Linked DNA regions of Homo sapiens: region 2 is linked to region 1. Evidence: promoter capture Hi-C in human tissues and cell types (Jung and others, 2019). All regions are on one chromosome and are shown on one strand. The core of a region is centred on a gene start or on the middle of the fragment in contact, and the rest is flanking DNA. Distances in the headings are between cores, read along the strand shown. Region 1 holds the start of GP6 (glycoprotein VI platelet). Region 2 overlaps NLRP7 (NLR family pyrin domain containing 7).

Region 1 (6,074 bases), core at 1,764-4,263:
GAGAGCACAGTGGTGGTTACCGGGGCGGTGGGGTAAGGTTTGGGGAGATGTTGGTCAGAGGAGGACAGTTTCAGTTGGACAAGAGGAGTATGTCTTGGAGATCTACTGCACATCATGGTGACTGTAGTTAATAACAACATATTGTACACTTGCATATCACCGATAGTAGATTTTAAATGTTCTCACCGGCCGGGCGCGCTGGCTCACACCTGTAATCCCATTTTGGGAGGCCAAGGTGGGCGGATCACCTGAAGTCAGGAGTTCGAGAGCAGCCTGACCAACATGGTGAAACCCTGTCTCTACTAAAAATACAAAAATTAGCGGGGCGTAGTGGCAGGAGCCTGTAATCCCAGCTACTTGGGAGGCTGAGGCAGGAGAATCGCTTGAACCTGGGAGGTGGAGGTTGCAGTGAGCCAACGTCATGCCACTGCGCTCCAGTCTGGGCAACAGAGTGAGACTCCATGTCAAAAAATAAAAATAAATAAAAATAAATGAGCGTGGAATACTACTCAGCCATTAAAAGGAGTGAAATAATGTCTTTTGGCCAGGCACAGTGGCTCACATCTGTAATGCCAGCACTCTGGGAGGCCGAGGTGGGTGGATCACGAGGTCAAGAGATCAAGACCATCCTGCCCAACATGGTGAAACCCCATCTCTACTAAAAATACAAAAATTAGCCGGGCATGGTGGCGGGTGCCTGTAGTCCCAGCTACTCGGGAGGCTGAGGCAGGAGAATCACTTAAACCCGGGAGGTGGAGTTTGCAGTAAGCCGAGATCACACCACTGCACTCCAGCCTTGGTGAGAGAGCGAGATTCCGTCTTTAAAAAAAAAAAAAAAAAGTCTTTTGCAGCAACTTGGATGGAGCTGGAAGGCATTATTCTAAGTAAAGTAATACAGGAGTGGAAAACAAAAATCTGTATATTCTCACTTATAAGTGAGAGCTAAGCTGTGGGTATGCAAAGGCATGCAGAGTGATGTAATGGACTTCAGAGACTCAGAAGGGAAGGGCAGAAGTGGGGCAGGGATGAAAAACTACACATTAGGTACAAGGTACACTAGTCAGGTGACAGGTGCACTAAAATCTCAGAATTCACCAGAATATAATTCATCCATGTAACCAAGAACCACTTGTATCCCAAAAGCTACTGAAGCAACAAGCCAGATGCAGTAACCTGTACAGGCCACACCTGTAACCCCAACACTTTGGGAGGCCGAGGTGGGTGGATCGCTTGAGCCCAGGAGTTCAAGACCAGCCTGGGCAACATAGCGGACCCCCGTAACTAAAAAAATTACAAAAACAAGCCAGGCATGATGGTGTACAACTGTAGTTCCAGATACTCAGGAGGCTGATGGGGAGGCACTGGTTGAGCCTGGGAGGTTGAGGCTGCAGTGAGCCATGATCATGCCACTGCCCTCCTGCCTGGGTGACAGAAGTGAGGCCCTATCTCAAATAAAATTAAATAAATAAAAGTTAAAACAGGCTGGGTGCGGTGGCTCACGCCTGTAATCCCAGCACTTTGGGAGGCCGAGGCGGGTGGAACCTGAAGTAAGGAGCTTGAGACCAGCCTGGCCAACATGGTGAAACCCCGCCCCTACTAAAAATACAATAATTAGCCAGACCTGGTGGCAGATGCCTGTAATCCCAACTATTCGGGAGGCTGAGGCAGGAGAATCACTTGGACCCGGGAGGCAGAGTTTGCAGTGAGCTGAGATCATGCCATTGCATTCCAGCCTGAGCGACCGACTGAGCGAGACTCCATCTCAAAAAACAAACAAAAAGAAAAAAAGAATACATCCATGGATGGATAATGAATGAGAGGTTGTTTATATTCACAGTTAACCCTCTCATCTCCAGTAATGCAACCATCTTCTTCCTGCTTAGCCTTTTGGAGATGCTGTCCCTTTAGTGGTCAAATTCTGAAGAAATCAGGAAATAATGCATTCGACATGCCCAGCACAAGTGAAGATCAGGCAGCAGAAATGCATTCGACCTGCCACCCATCCATCAGGAGACTATTTACTCCACTACTGTAGGGGATACTGACAAATTAAATCCATACCTAGTCCAGATATCAATTCCACAATTTTTTTTTTTTTTTTTTTGAGACGGAGTTTCGCTCTTGTTGCCCAGGCCAGAGTGCAATGGTGTGATCTTGGCTCACCGCAACCTCCACCTCCCAGGTTCAAGCGATTCTCCTGCCTTAGCCTCCAGAGTAGCTGGGATTACAGGCATGTGCCACCACACCCGGCTAATTTTGTATTTTTAGTAGAGATGGGGTTTCTCCATGTTGGTCAGGCTGGTCTCAAACTCCCGACCTCAGATGGCCCACCCGCCTCGGCCTCCCAAAGTGTGTAAGCCATGGCACTCAGCCTTTTTTTTTTTTTTTTTTTTTTTTTTTGAGATGGAGGCTCTCTCTGTTGCCCAGGCTGGAGTGCAATGCCTGACCTCAGCTCACTGCAACTTCTGCCTCCCAGTTTCAAGCAATTCTCCCACCTCAGCCTCCCACGTAGCTGGGATTACAAGCACCCGCCATCACGCCCGGCTAATTTTTGTAGAGATGGGGTTTCACCATGTTGACCAGGCTGGTCTTGAACTCCTGACCTCAGGTGATCCACCCACCTCGGCCTCCCAAGGTTGAGATTACAGGCGTGAGCCACTGTGCCTGGCCCACATTTTTTAAAAAAGGGGCAACTGCAGTGTAGTAGAACAAAGTTGTGACCAATGCTAGGATACTCTGTTCATTTCCTGACCCAGCCATGAATACACTGGAATAACTCATGCAAAATGCCAGCTCGCTGGCCCCCCGTTTCCCCACCCAACAAATGAAGGGGCTCTTACAGGTTCCTTTTTGTCCTGAAATTCATCACCAATGCAAATTTCTTAAAAATCCTTTGTCTGGCAGTCCATGCCTGTCCTTCAGCATTTCCCAGATCTGACCCTCAGGACTCACCAAGACAGAAGAGGGCGGTCGGGGATGGAGACATGGTTCCTCAGCCCTGTCCTGAGCTCTGTGGCCAGGGAGGGAAGTGGTGGGAGCCTGGGGCACAGGCTCAGGATGTGATGAGGATGAAGAATGCTCTCCTCCCTTCCTCCACCAGCCCCGGCCTTTCCTAATTGAGACTCATCGAGCCGTAGCCGGCTCCTCAGTACAGTGACTTGCACACAAGCTCCAAGGAGCCGCGCTTATCTCCTCTGGCCAGCCTGGCGTTGCACCGTTTGTCCGCCTGCTGGGGCCTGGTCTGTGTTCCCGTGCTCCCATAAACTCCCTGATGTCACTAGGAAAATACGCATCAAAACCACAGTGAGATATGACTTCACACCTTCTGGAATGGCTGTATTTTTTTTTTTTCTTTTGAGACAAAGTCTCGTTCTTTTTGCCCAGGTTGGAGTGCAGTGGCGCCATCTCGGCCCACTACAACCTCCACCTCCCAGGTTCAAGCGATTCTCCTGCCTCAGCCTCCCAAGTGGCTGGGATTATAGGTATGTACCACACCAGGCTAATTTTTGTATTTTTAGTAGAGATGGGGTTTCACTGTGTTGGCCAGGCTGGTCTTGAACTCCTGACCTCAGTTGATCCACCTGCCTCGGTCTCCCAAAGTGCTGGGATTACAGGCATGAGCCACTGCACCCGACCGGCTATAATTTTTTTTAATGGAAAACAGCAGATATTGGTGAGTATGCAGAGAAATTGAACTGCGCGTGCATTGCTGGCAGGGACGTAACATGGCGCCCCTGCTGTGGAAAACAGTTCCAGCAGCTCCTCCAGAAGTTAAACGTGGGATTGCCATAAAATCCAGCAATTCCACTTCGGGGTACACACCTAAAAGAACTGAAAACAGGGTCTCTAACATATTTGTACACAGTGTTCATAGCAGCTTTATTCACAATAGCCAAAAGGTGAAACCACCCACATGTCCATCAACAACAATGGATAAACAACATGTGGTATATACACACAAGGTAATATCAACCAGCCTTAACTAAAAGAATAAAAATCAGCCAGGCACAGTGGCTCACGCCTGTAATCCCAGCACTTTGGGAGGCCGAGGCGGGCGGATCACCTGAGGTCAGGAGTCCGAGACCAGCCTGGTTAACATGGTGAAACCCCATCTCTACTAAAAATACAAAAATTAGCTGGGCGTTAAATTAGCCGGGCATGGTGGCAGGTGCCTGTAATCCCAGCTACTTGGGAGACGGAGGCATGAGAATCGCTTGAACCTGGGAGGCAGAGATTGCGGTAAGCCGAGATCGCACCACTGCACTCCAGCCTGGGCGGCAGAGTGAGACTGTCTCAAAAATAAAAATAAGGCCGGGCGTGGTGGCCCATGCCTGTAATCCTAGTACTTTAGGAGGCTGAGGCAGGCAGATTGCCTGAGCTCAGCAGTTCAAGACCAGCCTGGGCAACACAGTAAAACCCCCAAAAAATACAAAAAAAAAATAGCCGGGCATGGCGGCAGGCACCTGTAGTCCCAGCTACTCCGGAGGCTGAGACAGGAGAATGGCTTGAACCCGGGACGCGGAAGTTGCGGTGAGCCGAGATCGCGCCATTGCACTCCAGCCTGGGTGACAGAGCGAGATTCTGTCTCCAAAAAATAAAAAATATTATAAAAGAATAAATTCAGATACATGCTACAACGTGATGGACCTTGAAGACATTATGCTAAAGGAAATATTCCGGACTTGACAGATAAATACTGCATTGTGCCGCTTATCTGAGGTATCGAGAGGAGTCAAATTCATAGAGACAGGGATTAGAATGGTGGTTGCCAAGGCCTGGGAAAAGTGGGGAGTTACTATTTAATAGGGAGCGCTTAGGTTGAAGATGATGACAAAGTCTGGGGGATCCATAGTGGTGATGGTTACACAACACTGTAAATGTATTTATATTTAATGCCATTGACTGTTTTTTGTTTTTTGGTTTTTTGAGACGGAGTCTCACTCTGTCGCCGAGGCTGGAGTGCAGTGGCGCGATCTTGGCTCACCGCAACCTCCGCCTCCCAGGTTCAAGCGATTCTCCTGCCTCAGCCTCCTGAGTAGCTGGGACTACAGGTGCGTGCCACCATGCCTAGTTGATTTTTTGTATTTTTAGTAGAGACGGGGTTTCACCGTGTTAGCCAGGATGGTCTCGATCTCCTGACCTTGTGATTTGGCCTCCCAAAGTGCTGGGAATACAGGCATGAGCCACCGCGCCCGGCCAGTGCCGTTGACTTGTATGTGCACTTACAGGTGGTTAAAATGAGAACTATCAGGGTGTTGATATCTAAAAACCTCCCTGCCATCATCTTCCCTACATCTCTCATTCAGTGACCATGGTTGAATGCCTGCCACCTTTCAAATATTATGTCAGGCACTCAGTATTGGCAGTTTTATCCATTATAAATGCTTTAAGCTGCATAGAATTTTAAACGTGTTAATAAAAGTAGTTATAAATCTTTAATACATAAGCTGGCTTTAAAATTATTGGTAAAATAAGATTAGAAATGTCTTAAGAATTGTTGGCGTTTTTGTTTGCACTTATTGAACGAGTGGTTTCATGCTTATCCCTGCAGAATACTATGAGATTTGTCATAAGGGTTATAAAACTATAAACCCGGCTGGGCGTGGTGGCTCACGCCTGTAATCCCAACACTCTGGGAGGCCGAGGCAGGCAGATCACCTGAGGTCGGGAGTTTGAGACCAGCCTGACCAACATGGAGAAACGCCATCTCTACTAAAAATACAAAATTAGCTGGGTGTGGTGGCGCATGCCTGTAATCCCAGATACTCAGGAGGCTGAGGCAGGAGAATCGCTTGAACCCGGGAGGCAGAAGTTGCAGTGAGCCGAGATTGCGCCACTGCACTCCAGCCTGGGCAACAAGAGTGAAACTCCATCTAAAATAAATAAAAATAAAACATTTGTTTTTTGTAGAGTTGGGGTTTCACTATGTTGCCCAGGCTGGTCTTGAACTCCTCCTGGGCTCAAGCAATCCACCGACCTCAGCCTCCCAAAGTGCTGGGATTACAAGTGTGAGCCACTGTGCCTGGCCCTATTGGGTCCTTTTAAAAGATACATAAAAAATCAAATGCAACAGT
Region 2 (6,046 bases), core at 1,500-3,999, 110 kb before region 1:
GCTCACCGCAAACTCCGCCTCCCGGGTTCAAGCGATTCTCCTGCCTCAGCCTCCCGAGTAGCTGGGATTACAGGCATACACCACCCCACCCGGCTAATTTTGTATTTTTAGTAGAGACGGGGTTTCTCCATGTTGAGGCTGGTCTCGAACTCCTGACCTCAGGTGATCCGCCCGCCTCGGCCTCCCAAAGTGCTGGGATTACAGGTGTGAGCCACAGCGCCTGGCTGCTCTTATTAAAATAGTCTCATCACCTACCGCAAGCGTGGAGAGCCAAGTGAGGAGAGGGGTCAGTCCCTTTTGGCAGCGCCTGGAAGCCAGTGCTAACATCATGGTGACAACTTTTCATTCTTAAGGAAAATTGCGGAGTGACTTCTATGCATTTTCTATGAATGACCAAATACAGGGTGTGGAAAAGCTGTGTTTGCCATGGCAATGGGAAGCCGAGAGAAACGGGGAGGCGAGAGAGACAGAGACATACACAGAGACTCCCAGAGACAGCCACACAGACTCACACAGAAACAGACAGACAGGCTGGGCTCGGTGGCTCACGCCTGTAATCCCACCACTCTGGGAGGCTGAGGCGGGTAGATCACCTGAGGTCAGGAGTCCGAGAACAGCCTGGCCAACATTGTGAAACCCCGTCTCTAGTAAGAATACAAAAAATTAGCCAGGCATGGTGGCACAGGGCTGTAATTCCGGCTACTCGGAAGGCTGAGGCAGGAGAATCACTTGAACCTGGGAGGCGCGGTTGCAGTGAGCTGAGATCACGCCATTGCACTCCAGCATGGGCGACAAGAGTGAAACTCCGTCTCAAAAAAAAAAACAAAAAAAAAAAACGAAAGAACAGAGAGACACATACAAAGACAGAGATAGAAACGCCCAGCGACAGAGACACACACAGAGAAACACAGACAGACACAGAGACACACACACAGAAACAGACACAGAGACAGAGAGACAAAAAGACAGACACAGAGAAACAAAGAGAGACACACAGAGACAGAGAGAGAGAGAGACACATACACACACACACAGAGAGTAGGAGGCGGCCCGTGGGAGCCGAGCAGAACCAGCGTGAGGCAGGGCCATCTTCTGAATTAAAGGCAACAGTGACTGTAAGCTTGTGCTTTGTGAGTAACAGGATAGATTAGAACAGGGCTGGCTGCCCATGGCCCACGAGCTGTTTCTGGGAAGCCTCCGCAGGTGCCAGCCAGGCCCTGCGCTGCTTCCATGTCCAAAGGCACAGCTGAGAGCTGATGAGAGACCGCGGGGCCCACAGTGCCAAGCATATGAACTATCTGGCCCGTTTGTCAATGCGTGGGTTGATCACATAAGTTATGATCACATAAGTCACAAAGACACACTGATCACATAGATGCACCTGGCAGATAGTAGACCACATGGCGCCTGAGTTAGGGAAGAAAAGAAATAGAAGAATCAACCGAATCATCCCTGAACTTCTTAGCAATACTTCCTCCTAGACAAAGCACAGAGTACCATGTTTATTGCAGGTTTGCTCCTGAGCATGTCAATAAACGCAGCTGCAACGAGAGTGCTCTAACTTTATTATCCCTGTGAGAAAGTACATAGCGTCATGTGAAGGGGGTGCGTGACTCGTGCAGAATCTCCCAAAAATAGTGAGAAAACCAGTGTCAAATCCTACCTCTCGACAGACTCTAGTGTTAACATGTGACCCTCTGACCTGCATTCATAAGACATCTTAGAGACCCGAATCCCGCTTCCTGTGTAATTCGTAGAGCGATCCCAGGCTGCTCAGCAAAAAAAGTCACAGCACGGAGGTGCCGTTGCCCCGGAAGCATTGCAATCAATAGTCAGCTTGGGATTCTTTTCTTTCACTTCCTCCAACAGCTTCTTGATTTCCAAATTAGTTTCATAGGTCTTCAACCTGGAGGGATCAGAGAACACAAATGTTCCCAGAAATTCATTCTCAACTACCCAGGATGCCTGAATATCTGTTTTCAAACACTCAAAGCAGGAAACGTTTTTGGGATTTTCTGGGGGACAGGGTCTTGCTCTGTTGCCCAGGCTGGGGTACAGTGGTGCCATCTTGGCTCTCTGCAACCTCCAGCTCCCAAGTTCAAGCAATTCTCATGCCTCAGGCTCCTGAGTAACTGTGATTACAGGTGTGCACCACCACGCTTGGCTAAGTTTTGTATTTACAGTAGAGATGGGGTTTCGACATGTTAGCCAGGCTGGTCTCGAACTTCTGGCCTCAAGTGATCCATCCACCTCGGCCTCCCAAAGCCATGGGATTACAGATGTGAGCCACAGCACCCAGTCAGAAAAGTTTTCTAAAAAGAAATTTAGACCCACACAATGGGGATCCTTATAAGTCTAAGAAAAAAAAGATTATGGCCAGGCACGGTGTCTCGCACCTGTAGTCCCAGCACTTTGGGAGGCCAAGGCAGGCAGATTGCTTGAGCTCCGCAGTTCAAGGCCAGCCTGGGCAACACGGTGAAACCCTGTCTCTACCAAAAATAGAAAAAGTTAGCCAGGAATGGTGGTGCACGCCTATAGTCCCAGCTACTCGGGAGGCGGAGGCAAGAGGATCACTTGAGCCCAGGAGGCGGAGGTTGCAACGAGCTAGAGATTGCCCTACTGCACTCCAGCCTGGTAACAGAGTAAAACATGCCTTTAAAAAATAAATTTAAAAAATAGATAATCAGGCTGGTGCACGGTGACTCACGCCTATAATTCCAGCACTTTGGGAGGCCGAGGCGGGCAGATCACCTGAGGTCAGGAATTCGAGACCAGCCTGGCCAACATAGTGAAACCCCGTCTCTACTAAAAATACAAAAATTAGCTGGGCATGGTGGCAGACAACTGTAATACCAGCTACTCAGGAGGCTGAGACAGGAGAATCGCTTTGAACCTGGGAGGCAGATGTTGCAGTGAGCCAATACCGCACCACTGTACTGCAGCCCGGGTGACAGAGCGAGACTCTGCCTCCAAATAAATAAATAAAAAATAGTGGCAAATCAAACCTTCAGTAGAACTAAGAGAATGCCAGAGTGAACCCCAGGGTTAATGATAGCAAACTTGGCTCTAACGTGGCTGCAGCATGCAAGCCTGTGTATGTGAACATGAGGGGTGGTGATTGTGGAGACACTGGCTTGCTATGTTGCCCAGGCTGGTCTCAAACTCCTGGCCTCAAACAATCCTCCCACCTTGGCCTCCCAAAGGAGGAACTGAGGAATGAGAAAAGAAATACGCCCCAAACATATGACATAAGAGACCACAGGGGGCTAGAGATTTGTCACCAATAGTCCTTGGTGGCATTACAGACCTCGGTCCCACCAACAAGAGAAGCATGACACTATTTAGCTCAAGTTTCATGATATACCCCTAAAACCTTAACCCATTTATGCCAGAGGTTACAATTATTTGAACTGCAGACGTGTGAAAAATCGTACCTTGAGCAGGATATAAATAACTCCCACATGCTTAGCGTTCCAATAATGCAACACTGGGCATCATGAAGCAGTTTACATGCGTATCATCTCTACAACTAAAATAACTCTTGAATAAGACAAGTGGGCTGTGCACAGTGGCTCACGCCTGCAATCCGGGTACTTTGTGAGGCCAAGACAGGAGGATCGTTTGAAGCCAGGAGTTTGAGAACCTCGGCAACACGGCCACACAGTGCAGCAGAGCAAAACGTTGTCTCAGAAAAGAAAAGACAAAGGCAAGAAGAAACTAAAGGTAGATTACGTTAAAATAAGTCACTGAGGCCGGGCGCGGTGGCTCACGCCTGTAATCCCAGCACTTTGGGAGGCCGAGGTGGGCAGATCACCTGAGGTCAGGAATTCGAGACCAGCCTGGCCAACATAGTGAAACCCCATCTCTACTAAAAATACAAAAAATTAGCCGGGCGTGGTGGCGGGCGCCTGTAGTCCCAGCTGCTCGGGAGGCTGAGGCAGGAGAATGGCGTGAACCCGGGAGGTGGAGCTTGCAGTGAGCCGAGATCGCACCGCTTCACTCCAGCCTGGGCGACAGAGACTGGAGTCTCTGTCTCAAAAAAAAGACAGATTCAAAAAAAAAGACAGACTCCGTCTCAAAAAAAAGACTCCGTCTCAAAAAAAAATAAAAAATACAAATAAGTCATTGAAAAGATATACACGGGTCACAACTAAGGGAGCATCTGTAGGACGATCTTCTGAAAAGCTAAGACCCAGGACAGCTCTGGGAACTACCTATTTTTGGATATAATGATTAGGGGTGTGTGTGTGTGTGTGTGTGTGCTCATGCACACACATACACACAAGCTTCCAGTCTGTACTCCAGGATGATTTAAACTCTCAGTATGCCTAGGACTAAGTGTTTTGGGGGAAAGTTGGACAATATTCAATTCACAGAGCATTTTAGAAAAGTATCTAATTTTTAAATTATCTCCTAAGCTAGGAGTGTGCTATAGAAAGATGCCTTAAGTTGATCCCTACAAAGAGTACACACACTCCCAAAAAAACTCTTCTCTGCATGGGAAATTCACCATGTGAAACAGCCATCCCAGGGCCGAGCACAGTGGCTCACGCCTGTAATCCCGGCACTTTGAGAGGCTGAGGCAGGTGGATCACCTGAGGTTGGGAGTTTGAGACCAACCTGACCAACATGGTGAAACCCCATCTCTACTAAAAACTACAAAAATTGGCCAGGTGCAGTGGCTCATGCCTGTAATCCCAGCACTTTGGGAGGCCAAGGCGAGAAGATCACCTGAGGTCAGGAGCTCGAGACCAGCCTGGCCAACATGGCAAAACCCCATCTCTACTAAAAATACAAAAATTAGCTGGGTGTGGTGGCGAGCGACTGTAATCCTAGCTACTCAGGAGGCTGAGGCAGGAGAATCACTTGAACCCAGGAGGCAGAGGTTGCACTGAGCCGAGATAGCGCCACTGCACTCCAGCCTGGGGGACAGAGAGAGACTCTGTCTTTAAAAAAAAAAAAAAAAAAAAAAAATTAGCCAGCTGTGGTGGTGTGTACCTGTAATCCCAGCTACTCAGGAGGTTGAGGCAGGAAAATCGCTTCAACCTGTGAGAAGGAGGCTGCAGTGAGTCAAGATCGCGCCACTGCACTCCAGCCTGGGCAACAGTGAGACTCCATCCCAAAAAGCAAAAACCAAAAAGGCCGGGTGCAATGGCTCACCTCTGTAATCCCACCACTTTGGGAGGCCGAGGCAGGTGGCTCACCTGAGGTCAGGAGTTCAAGACTAGCCTGGCCAACATGGTGAAACCCCTCTCTACTAAAAAATTAGCCAGGCATGGTGGCAGGCATCTGTAATTCCAGCTACTTGGGAGGCCAAGGTGGGAGAATCGCTTGAACCCAGGAGGTGGGGGTTGCAGTGAGCCAAGATCGCACCACTGCACTCCAGCCTGGGCTACAAGAACAAAACTCCGTCTCAAAAAAAAAAAAAGAAAAAGAAAAAAATTAGCTGGACATGTTGGCATGCCTCTAGGCCCAGCTACTCATGAGGCTGAGGCAGGAGAATTGCTTGAACCTGAGAGGCAGAGGTTGCGGTGAGCCAAGATTGCGCCACTGCACTCCAGCCTGAATGACAGAGCACGACTCCATCTCAAAAAAACAAAAACAAAAAACAAAACAAAACAAAACAAAAAACCCATACCTGAGTATCTTCAAGGATCCAGTTCTTTGTCTTAGAACCCCAAAGAGCTTAATTATGCCACTCTTCCACAAATGATTCTGGCCCAGGTCCAGAGTTTCAAGCTTCTGATTGCTGAGGAGAGCAGATCCAAGATGCTGACAATAGAAAGGCATGAGGGAGCAGCTCCAGAGGCTGTTGAGGAAGAACATGGAAATCCACGCATTCACTGAGCAGGTAGTGGCTCAAGCGTGTAATCCCAACACTTCGGGAGGCCAAGGCGGGTGGATCACTTGAGGCCAGGTGTTCGAGACCAGCCTTGCCAACACGGTCAAACCCCATCTCTACTAAAAATACAAAGATTAGGCAGGGCGTGGGGACAGACACCTGTAGCCCCAGCACCTTGGGAGGCCGAGGAGGGTAGATCACCTG

Evidence for each region. The method cuts DNA at HindIII sites, captures the fragments that hold promoters and counts their contacts. A contact is called where the count stands out against the background at its distance.
Region 2: a fragment that was not itself captured here is called in contact with the fragment with the promoter of GP6 in region 1 in 2 of the 25 tissues and cell types used here (neural progenitor cells and thymus).

What each region holds. Positions count from the first base shown.
Region 1 is chr19:55,035,251-55,041,324 of GRCh38, forward strand. GP6 (glycoprotein VI platelet) reads right to left here and starts at 3,014. Exons shown (of 8, transcript NM_016363.5): 1 at 2,953-3,014. The coding sequence starts at 2,986. The region is part of intron 2 of GP6-AS1 (GP6 antisense RNA 1); the gene reads left to right. It also overlaps a transcript of RDH13 not described here. The HindIII fragment of the contact is 34,893 bases long and covers 1-6,074 here.
Region 2 is chr19:54,921,967-54,928,012 of GRCh38, forward strand. NLRP7 (NLR family pyrin domain containing 7) reads right to left here. Exons shown (of 11, transcript NM_001127255.2): 10 at 5,639-5,809; 11 at 1,549-1,906. The coding sequence ends at 1,774. It also overlaps a transcript of NCR1 not described here. Among named protein-coding and RNA genes, the nearest start is that of NCR1, 19 kb to the left of the region's middle. The HindIII fragment of the contact is 4,526 bases long and covers 487-5,012 here.